Regions from separate parts of the Homo sapiens genome. Here all the other regions are linked to region 3. Evidence: promoter capture Hi-C in human tissues and cell types (Jung and others, 2019). All regions are on one chromosome and are shown on one strand. Each heading gives the region's core, a stretch centred on a gene start or on the middle of the fragment in contact. The rest is flanking DNA. Distances are from core to core; before and after follow the strand shown.

Region 1 (4,116 bases), core at 731-3,230, 940 kb before region 3:
CTATCCATGTCCCAAGCTACCTCTGTCATGAGAAGCCCTGCTTCTCTCTACTCTAAACCACCTTACGGTAAAGGCAAGACAATCAAGCAGTACAATCAGTAGCCAACCCTACTGGTATGATGACCCCAACATCGCTGAGTAAGCCCAAGACACAGAAGGTCAGCCCCTTCAGCATGGTCCCTTTGGCAACTAGAGGAAAGAACACGGATGTCATGGTTTTAAGACTCAAGCAACGTGATGTACGCTAGTGGGTAGAGCACAGGTGAGGGACATTCAGATACGGTCCCACTCCATTCATGACTGAACCTGACTGTGGCGCTGGCTCAGGAATGTTTTGCCTGGCACAGTGGTGGGCATCTGACATTTCAGGATTTGGGGACTAGTTACAGTCAAGGCAGTGACATGGTTTCTGTGACTGTCCTTTGATGAAGAAAGTAGGGTAAGGGTTGCACAAGCGAGGAATCATTTTACTTACAGAAACCACTTGTGCGAATTTAAATAAAGGGATATTTATTCTAAAGGTCTGGATTAAGAGGATCCAAGGAGAAGGTGACCAAGCAGACCCTGGAGCTGGGCCCATTTGGAGACCCCTGCAGCAAGCGTGCCTGGACCATCACTCTAGCGCCTGCGCATTGATCCCAGTCAGCAGCCTGATTACTTCGTCTTCATTTTCCAAGAGAGGAAATCTGATTGGCTTCTGGCCAGTCAGAATTGGTCCCTTTTTGGTCAATGAGATTGGGATAGAGAGGGGACATGATGAAAGGACTCCCCTTGTCTGATTAGAGTAAATGTAAGTCCTCTGGGAAGAGAGTGCAGGGACAGGAGGAGACTGGTGGGCAGTTCTGCCGCAGAAGTCCCCTCCTATTTCACCCCTTAGCGACGGGGCAGGATTCTTCTTTGCATCCCAGCATTATGACTCAGAAGAGTAGACCTGGAGCAGAGAAAACCCTTCCAACCTGGCCATCAAGGCTGATTGAAGGGAAACAAGGTACCTTCAGGTCAGTACATACATCATTTGGGAAAGTTGGGATGCGGGTGGGAGGGAAAGGGCAAGACGATGTGCACATTGCAGATTAATTAAGTGTCTGCATAGAGTGGACTCCCCTGCTTCCCTCAGACCCTGTCTCCTCTGTGCTCCCACCCAGAGGAATGGCTAATTGGCAGAAGGTCAGTGCATTTACCTAGAGTCATTCCAATCCGTCCGAGAGGCAGGAAGGGCAAGGAAGGAGTGGCTGGATGACACACTTTTATGCAATCATCTGGAAATCTAATTTGTGGAACAAGTAGCCATCTGTTCCATGGGTGATGTGCCAAAGTACCTGCCAACAACAGAACAAGCTTTCTGCTGTTCGGGTAACTAATTGCATCTATGGGACCAACACAGCATGAGACTCAACCCGTGGAATATGATCTCCCACTAAATTACCACTTTTGCTTCGGCTTTTCTTGGGGAGCCAGTATGCATACTACAGAGTCTCTGAAACAGCAGCAGAGAAACAGAGAGGCTGGGCAACCCCGCACCCCCCAAAACGGGATAGGACAGCAGGTGTCAAGGGTAGCACGTTCCTGGAGCTGTGCAGGAGACTGCGGCTTTGCTCTAGTTTCTTTTTCCCTTCTGAGAAACACGGAAGTCTGACTCAGTATGAAGCTGGGGAGGGTAGTCAGGGCCTAGAAGTGCTAAGTTGCTATCAGTGATTCCTTTTATGCCTTTTTCTTTTCTAAGATACCTCATTTAGAAACTAGAGGGAGTAGAATGTACTGGAGGTAAGAAATCTGTGTCTTCACCCCTATCACCACTGATGGCATGGTGGCCAACAGTTGCCTTGTTTAAAGTTTCAATGGTAGGTTCATCCAGTTACATAAACTCCTCATAGAAAATGACCTCTCGTTGTTTGGTATCACCCACGACAAGCATTACCCTACAGGAAGCAAGCCAATAGCAGGTGGATTCTCCTTCACTTTCTGCACCCGCTATCCCCAGAGCCCCGTCCATAGGCAAGAGAATCTCAAAGAGCCTAAGCAGACTTTTTCCTAGGTTTTCGTACTGCTTGATTAGTTATCTAGGAATGGATGGCTGGATCCATATCTATTCTGCCTCAAGAAACTTAACCCCAAACTCTTAGTGACAGTACATTTTTTCATCTCTGTTTTTCTTTTTTTAAAGAATATATCAGCAACTTCAAAAATGTACCAAGAATACCAGTTGTCATAGGGGCCTTAGTATCAGCTGCTTTGGCCTTCCAGTGGACTGGGGACAGGTCTCTCATCATATACCTGGCTGTCTGCTGGGCTCTTTCCAGTCTCTCATTAAATCCCTATCATGCTGGATTGGCTCTGAGCATTAGTGAAAAAAACACTTCCTGTTTTCCTGACAAAGCAGAACCTAGCACACTGCCCTTGTGTGATGAATACTTAGCGATTATCTTAGTGCAACCAAGAGGAAAAAAACAAGGGATTTAACCAGCAGGAGGGGAGTATGCTTAGCACTCAAGATGCTAAGCTGCTAATAATCAGTGTGAACCAAAGGTACTTCTGGCTGTCTGGTCCTCCAGGGGTCGGTGAAAGGTGTTGCATCAAAACTGCTGCAGAAGGCAGCTCCCTAACAGGCAGAACAGTTATTAGGCTGGGCCCACTATGAAAAATAAATAAGAAGTATTGGAAAGGATTAAATCAGCCTTATAGAGATGTCTCCATTAGCCACGGGAATAAAGGTTTCAGGTGGAAACCTCAGCATAATCCCACAAAACAAAGTATGATACTTAACAGTCACTTATGAAATGGATTTTATGAGGTTTTTGGTGTTCCATTTTTTTAATTTAAGAAGCGACTATAGAGTACCTTCTTTCTGACTGTATTTTGCTTAGAACTGGGAACACATGAGCCAGATGGTGGAAGGAATGTTGGCCAGGATTCACAATTCAGTGTCACCTCAGAGGTGACATGAGCCCCAAGAGCGTGTTGGTAAATGTCTAACAACTAGCTCTACCATAAAAGCCCTGATTTGTAGTGTTTGCCACTTTTAGTAGTGTAAATGTTCCCGCCACAGCTGGTTTCATGGTATCAACATAATGTTACTGAACACAGTGTTGGAAGAGATGAACACAGATAGTAGTATTTCCAGACAGATTCACCAGGCATAACAAAGAAAACCCAAGAGCATAGACAATAGTAAAATACAGCCAAATCATTAGGAAGTCATGAGTTTTGAGTACCTATTAGCCTTGTTTTAAATGTAATTTATTGAAGTGTGAGGTTTTTTTTGTTTGTTTGTTTGTTTTTGAGACGGAGTCTCGCTCTGTCGCCCAGGCCGGACTGCGGACTGCAGTGGCGCAATCTCGGCTCACTGCAAGCTCCGCTTCCCGGGTTCACGCCATTCTCCTGCCTCAGCCTCCCGAGTAGCTGGGACTACAGGCACCCGCCACCACGCCCGGCTAATTTTTTGTATTTTTAGTAGAGACGGGGTTTCACCTTGTTAGCCAGGATGGTCTCGATCTCCTGACCTCATGATCCACCCGCCTCGGCCTCCCAAAGTGCTGGGATTACAGGCGTGAGCCACCGCGCCCGGCCGAAGTGTGAGTTTATATCATTTAATTTTGAATACTGATTCTGGTTCACAAAATGCCTGAATATTGAACAAACCTTTGCAGGCTTGTATGAGCCAGACCCCACATACCACTGTATCCACCAGAACAGAGGCTGAATTCAGGTGACAGAAACCAGGAGACCCACCAACTTTGGTGGGACCTGGACTCTTACGACTACATTCAAATAAATTAATCACTTTTCATAAAAATTGATATATCAAAAAAAAAAAAAAATGTCAAGGAACACCTAAAATGCACTTGGATGGCTTAGTCTACCATTTGAAACAAAACATTTGTCAAGCCTGTAATCCCAGCACTTTGGGAGGCCAAAGTGGGTGGATCACAAGGTCAGGAATTCAAGACCAGCCTGGCCAACATAGTGAAACCCTGTCTCTACTAAAAACACAAAAATTAGCCAGGCATGGTGGTATGCACCTATAGCCCCACCTACTCGGGAGGCTGAGCCTGGAGAATCACTTGTACCCAGGAGGCAGAGGTTGCAGTGAGCTGAGACCGTGCCATTGCACCTGGG
Region 2 (3,852 bases), core at 390-2,889, 540 kb after region 3:
TCATCTATATTAGTTAACTTTGCATTAAGGTTTTTCATTAAGGTTTTTCCCCTGTTTGGTTCTTTCATTTTACGATCCATATTTTTTGTGCCTGGTATGGGATGATAAAGATAACAGAAATAGCTCCTGTTTTTAGGTACCTTTATTTGTTTGTTTGTTTGGAGACAGGGTCTTACTCTGTCACCCAGGCTGGTGGCACAATCATAGCTTACTACAGACTAACTCCTGGCTCAAGCCATCCTCCACCTCAGCCTCCCAAGTAACTGAGATTACAGGTGCACACCACCACCTCTGGCTAATTATTAAAATTTTCATAGAGACAGGATCTCACTTGGTTGGCCAGACTGATCTCAAACTCCTGGTCTCAAGTGATCCTCCCACCCCAGCCTCCTGAAGTACTAGGATTGCAGGCATGAACCACTGCCCTGGCCTAGATACATTTAATGTAGTAGAGGAGATGAGATTTTTACATAGTATAATATTGAATGAGACAACAGTCAAAAGAAAATCACATACTATAAGAGAAGAGATTACCCTTACCTTTTAGGAATCAAGAAAACTCCCTGGAGGAGATGGTACTTGAACTTATACTGGAGGATTTATATGTTCATCCTTCTTGGTTTATATTTTGTCCCACACGGTAGCTTGTTTCTTTTTTCTTTTTTTTCTTTTTCTTTTTTTTTTTTTGAGGCAGAGTTTTGCTCTGTTGCCCAGGCTAGAGTGCAGTGGCGCGATCTCGGCTCACTGCAACCTCCACCTCCTGGGTTCAAGCGATTCTCCTGCCTCAGCCTCCCTAGTAGCTTGTTTCTTAGAGACAGTGTGAGTGAAACTCATTAAGTAAAGTCAATACAGCACAAGTTTCATAAAATGGTAAAGAAATAGAAATAAAAGTAAAGGATGAAATTCTTAAGAACTTTGTCAGGCCAGGCGTGGTGGCTCATGCCTGTAATCCCAGCACTTTGGGAGGCCGAGGTGGGTGGATCACCTGAGGTCAGGAGTTTGAGACCAGCCTGGCCAACATGGCAAAACCCTGTCTCTCTAAAAATACAAAAATTAGCTGGGCATGCTGGCGGGTGCCTATAATCCCAGCTACTCGGGAGGCTGAGGCAGGAGAATCGCTTGAACCCAGGAGGCGGAGGTTGCAGTGAGCCGAGATCACATCATTCCACTCCAGCCTGGGTGCCAAGAGCAAAAAACTCCATCTTGAAAAATAAAGAACTTTGTCTCCAGTATCATTCTTGTTCTAGGACTGAGAAACAGTTCATTCTTCATTTTCGTCTACTAAAATTTAAGTTCTTTGATTTTCTTCTTTAGGTCTTGGAAAAAGAATTAATAGAGTAATTTTCTTAGGTATCAAGTAATGAAAATGAGAAAAGAGACTAGTCTCATTATAGATTTTTTTTTTTATTCTTATTTTATTTTATTTGAGACAAGGTCTCGCTCTGTCACCCAGGCTGGAGTGTAGTGGCTCCATTATGGTTCCCTGCAGCCTTGAACTCAGGGGCCCAAGCAATCCTCCCACCTCAGCATCCCGAGCAGCTGGGACTACAGGTGCATGCCACCATGCCTGGCTAATTTTTGTGCTTTTTCGTGTATAAAGATGAGATTTCGCCATGTTGCCCAGGCTGGTCTCAAACTCCTGGGCTCAAGAGATCTGTCCACCTCAGCCTCCTAAAGCGCTGAGATTACAGGCATGAGCCACCACGTCCAGCCTAGAGATATTTATACTTTAATAGCTGCCTGCAATACCAATACACCTAGAATGAATTAGAAGAATTTGAAAACAGATTTCAGGATTAGTAAAAGAAAGTCAAGCCCTATGCCTCCTGTTCTACATTCCTCAAATCACATAATCCTGATTTTTTCCTCTTCGTATGAAAATTCCTCTCATTTTGGGCCTGTTTGATTTTTTGGGAGACACCACCCAGCAGAAACACACCGCACTTACATGCAACCCCTCCATTGCACAGTTTCTAAATGCCCCCCCGCTTTTTTTTCCATTCTCTGATCCTAAAAAAAGAAATCCAGTGGCACAATCACGGATCTCTGCAGCCTTGATCTCTTAGCCTCAAGTGATTCTCCTGCCTCAGCTTCCTGAGTAGCTGGGACCACAGGTGCTTGCCACCATGCCCAGCTATTTTTTTTTCTTTGTTTTTTTGTAAAGATGTGTCTCACTATCTTGCCCAGGCTGATATTGAATTCCTGGGCTCAAGTGATCCTCCTACCTTGGCCTCCCAAAGTGCTGGGATTTTATATATATATATATATATATATATATATATATATATATTTCCATTTTACTTATGTTAATGCTTTCCCTCTTTTGGCATAGAAAAGCTAATAAAGCTTAAACTTAAATGGAACTTGTATAAACACAATATATCTGATGATACCTTTGAGAGATGTCTTACATTTGTCTTTTCTTTCAGCAAAATGTGATGCCAGTCCCTGAAATGTGTAGCAATTTAATTATGGGTAGCATTCTTCTTTCCCTGTACTTACTATAGTATTAACTTACTACTAATGCTAAGAAGTTTATAATTTTTGATAATTCAGATTTGGATTAGATTAAGATTTATGTCTATGCATAATTCATTAAAAACTTTTTAAACCAAATTGTCAAAAAAGATTGTAGGTACCTTGTTTAAAGAAAATATATAAGCTAGTTTCAAGAATTCCAAAATATTTTTTAAAAGCAGCTCTGTACATGTCGATAAATTATTTGCTCATTGTAATTTTTTGAATCTGTTTGTCAAAGCAAATGTAGACGGGCTCGAACTCCTGACCTCAAATGATCCACCCGCCTCAGTCTCCCAAATGCTGGTATTACAGGCATGAGCCACTGCTCATGGCCTGTTATCATTTTTAATTGAAAATTTTACTGAGATAATTGTAGATTCACTTGCCATTATAAGAAATAATTCAGAGATATCACTTGTATACTTAGCCCAGTGTCCCCCAAAGGTAAAATTTTGCAAAATTATAGTCTAATGTAACAGCGTGAATATTGACATTAATACAATCCACTGAGTTTATTCAGATTTCCCCAGTTTTACTTGTATTCAATTGTGTGTTTGTGTATTAAGTTCGATATAACTAGTCAATATACTGAACAGTTCTAACATCACAAGTATCCTTCAGGTAGCCCTTTTGTATCCACATCCACTTCCTTCTCATCCCCAACTATTGACAACCACTAATCCCTTTTCCATTTCTAAAATGTGATTTCAAAAATGTTACATACTTGGCTGGGGGCGGTGGCTCATGCCTGTAATCCCAGCACTTTGGATATACGGTCTCTACTAAAAATACAAAAATTAGCTGGGAGTGGTTGTGCACACCTGTAATCCCAGGTGCTTGGGAAGCTGAGGCAGGAGAATTGCTTGAACCCAGGAGGCAGAGCTTGCAGTGAGCCGAGAGTGTGCCACTTCACTCCAGCCTGGGCAACAGAGTGAGACTCTGTTTCAAAAATAAATAAATAAATAAATAAAATGGTCTTCATACAGCCTTTGCTGCTAGGAAATATAGTTTCTAATTAATGTAATTTTTTGTCAAATACAAAATGCTTCTGAACGTTTCTGGTTATCAAGCTGGTAATCTTTCACAGTGTCCTCAATTTTTTTTTCTACTCTCTTACTAGTTCTCCAGATCACATGCAGGCTATTAAGAAATGTGAACTAACAAGTTAAAGTAGCAGGACGGGCGCTGTGGCTCACACCTATAATCCCAGCACTTTGGGAAGCTGAGGCAGGTGGATCACTTGAGGTCAGGAGTTTGAGAGCAGCCTGGCCAACAAGGTGAAACCACATCTCTACTAAAAAAAAAAAAAATTTGCCAGGTGTGGTGGTGCAT
Region 3 (4,008 bases), core at 1,173-3,672:
CAAGGCGAAACCCTGTCTCTACTAAAAATACAAAAAAATTAGCTGGGCATGGTGGTGGGCACCTGCAGTCCGAGCTACTCGGGAGGCTGAGGCAGGAGAATGGCATGAACCAGTGAGGCGGAGCTTGCAGTGAGCCGAGATCATGCCACTGCACTCCAACCTGGGCGACAGAGCAAGACTCCATCTCAAAAACAAAAACAACAACAAAAAAGAATCCAACCTAATCTCTTTAATATTCTCTACTGCAAACTCCTCCCTCATGGTCTCATAATAGCTCATGTTTATTACTGGTTTCATAAAAATCTTTTTAAACTTTAAAAAAATGAAATAGTACATAGTAAAGTACATGAAACATAAATGTAGCGAACAAGAAATGATTATAAAGTGTACATCTGTAGAACCACCACCCAAATCAAGAAATAAAACACTGCTTGCACCCGGGAAGACTTTTTCTCATGTGACCCTTCTTGATCACACCCTAATCCCTTAGGAGTAACCACTATCTCGACTTAACAGTAATTGTATACGTTCCTTACAGTTTTACCACCCAGGTACATCCTTGAATAATATATTTTGGTTTGCCTCTTTTTGAATTATACTTTATGTGTTCTTTCATCAACACTATTTGTAAGACTTTTCAGGCTGCTGTGTAATTCTAGTTTGGTTTCACGGCTATAATTCAGGGTTTCTCTACCTCCACACTATTGACATTGGGAGTGATACTTTGTTGTGGTGGCTGTCCCATGTATTGCTGGATGTTTAGCGGCATCCCTTGCATCACCCATTAGCAGTCAGTAGTACTTCCCCTTTTGACACCCAAAAAATGTCTCTGGATATTGCCAAATGTCTCCTAAGAGCCAAAAATCACTCCTGGTAGAGAACTACTGCTCTAATTCATTCACTTCCATTCCTCATTCATTAATGGTGTTCCATTCTAATGAATGTATCAGTTACTTTTCCAATCTACTACAAAAATAATGCTGTTATGAACACTTATTTATAAAAGTCTTCAGAAGCATATACACATGCATTTTTCTAGAATGGGAATCACTGGGTCATGTCTGTATTTTATAAGGCTCACCCGCTTTTTCAAAGTAGTTGTACTACAGGAGAATTCATACTGTTATACATGCTACTCAAAAGCCTAAGTATTACCCATAAGATACTAAGACATAAGGAACTACAGAGACTTTCTCCCTCCTTCCCAACCAATGCACAAATTCCATTTCTGTAATTTTCCCCCATCCTCCAGCTCCTCACCTTCTTTTCTACCCTAATTACAACTGTCCTTCAAGTCTTAGATGATGTCCACCTTTTCTCAGGGGAGAACAGCACTATCCCCTATTGCCCTCCCCTTTCCCTAAACTTGAATAGCATTTCTGAACTGAGCTACTCATTTTTTGTTAGTCACATACTCCCCAAAACTGTAAGCTGTTAGGCAGCACCAAAGGTGCCTTTTAATTTCTTCTCTGAAACAAATAATCCAGCTGGACGTGGTGGCTCATGCCAGTAATCCCAGCACTTTCGGAGGCCAAGGCGGGAGGATCACTTGATCCCAGGAATTTGAGACCAGCCTGGGCAACAGCAGCACCCTGTCTCAAAGAGAGGAGAAATAATCCCTTTCTGGCCTAGCAAAGTAATCTAACTACACATATATAAATGTTCAACAAGGATGCCTTGAATGAATGAGAATAGACAAGCTTTGCAAACTCCTGAACCTGAAAGTAACTGAGATTCAGAAGGCGGTAACAGGCAGGAAACCTAAATTCTAGTCCTGGCTCTCATCCATGCAACTAGAATGTGAACTTGGGCAAGTGATTTCCCCTCTCTGGGCATCGGTTTCTTCATCTGCAAAAGTGTTAGAACAGATGACCACAGAGGTCCCCTCCAGCGCTAGAATTCGGTAAGAAAATTGTACTTCATCAAATCGAGCTTGAGGATGAGACCGGAAGTGGGGGTGGGGGAGTCCCTCGGTTGTCGACGGGGGTTGTGGTGGTGGTGGGGTTCCTCTGTTGCTCCTTGGAGCTCAAGAGAACGGCCACTACAACTGAGGTCAGCCGCCAGGGCGGGTACCAGAGGTGCAGACCGCCACAGGCCATCCCTGGTGTGCCTAAATACCGCTACTGGGTCACCGGGACCGGCAGTGCGGCCGAGTCCGCCCCACGTACGGCCTCTCTGGGAAGGCCAGCCTTGGATATGAGACACCTCGGGGGCCGCCCGCGGGCCAAGGGAGCGCCCAGTCGCTCACCCGGTTGGGATATTCCTTCTCCACACAGTCGCCACACATCGCGACGCAGTCAACAGGGAATGTCCTCCAACGCTTCCGGGAAGACGAAACCTCGCGAGAACTGAGATACGGTTGCCGCATGCGCCCAAGTACTCGACTCCTGGGTATTCCGTCTCGGGAACCGAGCCGAAGTCTCCGCCCCTTAGCAACTGTTGTCAAGGCAGGGCACAGTCTCCTTGGCACCGTGCGTGGGCAAAGGGTGGGGCTTCAGAAACCTTTGGAGACAGACGAAGAAATCTTGTGCGCTAACAGATGTGACGGGAAGGGAAAGGGATCTTGGGCTGAGCGAAGTTCTCACAGACACCTTCCTGAGCTTAGGCTGACAAGAAAGGCAAATCACGACACACAAGAAAGGGAATTATTTCTCGCTACCGCATATACAAATCTGAAATGTTAATGAATACATTTCTGTACCATTTCTTAAGGCAATGAGAGTGAATAAGAGACCAGATCTCAGCAGGTGAATAAACAGTAACCGAAGTGTTTGGGAAGAGACACTCAGAGTGCTGCAGAAAATCTCCTAAAAAAACACTTAAAATATTAGTAATAATTGGTCATTCCAGAGTCCTCTGGAGGACATAGCAACGAGGAACGTATTTCTATCTCTCTCAGGTGTCACAGAAGCACCTCAGTGGCGGGCAAGCACTATGTAAATAGAAAAATGGCCAGGTCATCAGCCATCCCATTACTGGGTATATACCCAAAGGATTATAAATCATGCTGCTATAAAGACACATGCACATGTATGTTTATTGTGGCACTATTCAGAATACCAAAGACTTGGAACCAATGCAAATGTCCATCAATGATAGACTGGATTAAGAAAATGTGGCACATATATACCATGGAATACTATGCAGCCATAAAAAAGGATGAGTTCATGTCCTTTGTAGGGACACGGATGAAGCTGGAAACCGTCATTCTGAGCAAACTATCGCAAGGACAGAAAACCAAACACCGCATGTTCTCACTCATAGGTGGGAATTGAACAATGAGAACACTTGGACACAGGGTGGGGAACACCACACACCGGGGCCTGTCGTGGGGTGGGGGGAGGGGGGAGGGATAGCATTAGGAGATATACTTAATGTAAATGACGAGTTAATGTGTGCAGCACACCAACATGGCATATCTATACATAGGTAACAAATCTGCACGTTGTGCACATGTACCCTAGAACTTAAAGTATATTAAAAATAAATAGATTTCAAAAATTATCTAATTGAATTGACTGCAGATATTTTGATTTCAGATTTGCACATCCATTTATAAATGACCTATTGGTTCACAGATTAAAAAACCAATAAACATATGTGCTTCCAAGAAAAGAAAGAAAGAAAGAAAAATGGCCAGGTCAGTTGTTCCTGCATCATTTCCCAATCCTGTGGGTCTCAAAATGCTTGTGCTTGTTGCCCCGCCTCATCCTTTCTCTCTGTATTGAAAGCATCTTATTTATTCGCAACGACCTAATTAACTTGCAGACGAATCTCCGAAGTTTGTCTCTGTTTCTGAACAATGCGTCTTTATCACACTCCTCTACCCCAATGGGAACATCAACATCCTCCCTCAGCCCTGCTTTATTGCTGTCATGTCAGGGAAGAAAGATTGGGGAGCCTGGGAGACTCTGGGATCCAGATTCCTTAAAGAAGAGATTAATAACCATTTCAAAGCACACCAGTTTAAATGGGTTTGCTAATATGGGAATTATTTTTCCACGGAAG

The links. Contacts are between HindIII fragments. The study calls those that stand out against the background at their distance.
Region 1: a fragment that was not itself captured here is called in contact with the fragment with the promoter of CHURC1-FNTB in region 3 in 1 of the 25 tissues and cell types used here (heart right ventricle).
Region 2: a contact is called between a fragment that was not itself captured here and the fragment with the promoter of CHURC1-FNTB in region 3, in 1 of the 25 tissues and cell types used here (aorta).

The regions. Positions count from the first base shown.
Region 1 is chr14:65,848,091-65,852,206 of GRCh38, reverse strand. No RefSeq gene overlaps it. Among named protein-coding and RNA genes, the nearest start is that of LINC02290, 260 kb to the left of the region's middle. RefSeq lists a silencer at 1,413-1,588. The HindIII fragment of the contact is 4,672 bases long and covers 1-4,116 here.
Region 2 is chr14:64,375,183-64,379,034 of GRCh38, reverse strand. No RefSeq gene overlaps it. Among named protein-coding and RNA genes, the nearest start is that of MTHFD1, 11 kb to the left of the region's middle. The HindIII fragment of the contact is 3,754 bases long and covers 1-3,516 here.
Region 3 is chr14:64,912,775-64,916,782 of GRCh38, reverse strand. CHURC1-FNTB (CHURC1-FNTB readthrough) reads right to left here and starts at 2,422. Exons shown (of 14, transcript NM_001202559.1): 1 at 2,249-2,422. The coding sequence starts at 2,368. CHURC1 (churchill domain containing 1) reads right to left here and starts at 2,328. Exons shown (of 4, transcript NM_001386928.1): 1 at 2,249-2,328. The coding sequence starts at 2,287. RefSeq lists enhancers at 2,059-2,328, 2,479-2,528. The HindIII fragment of the contact is 18,830 bases long and covers 1-4,008 here.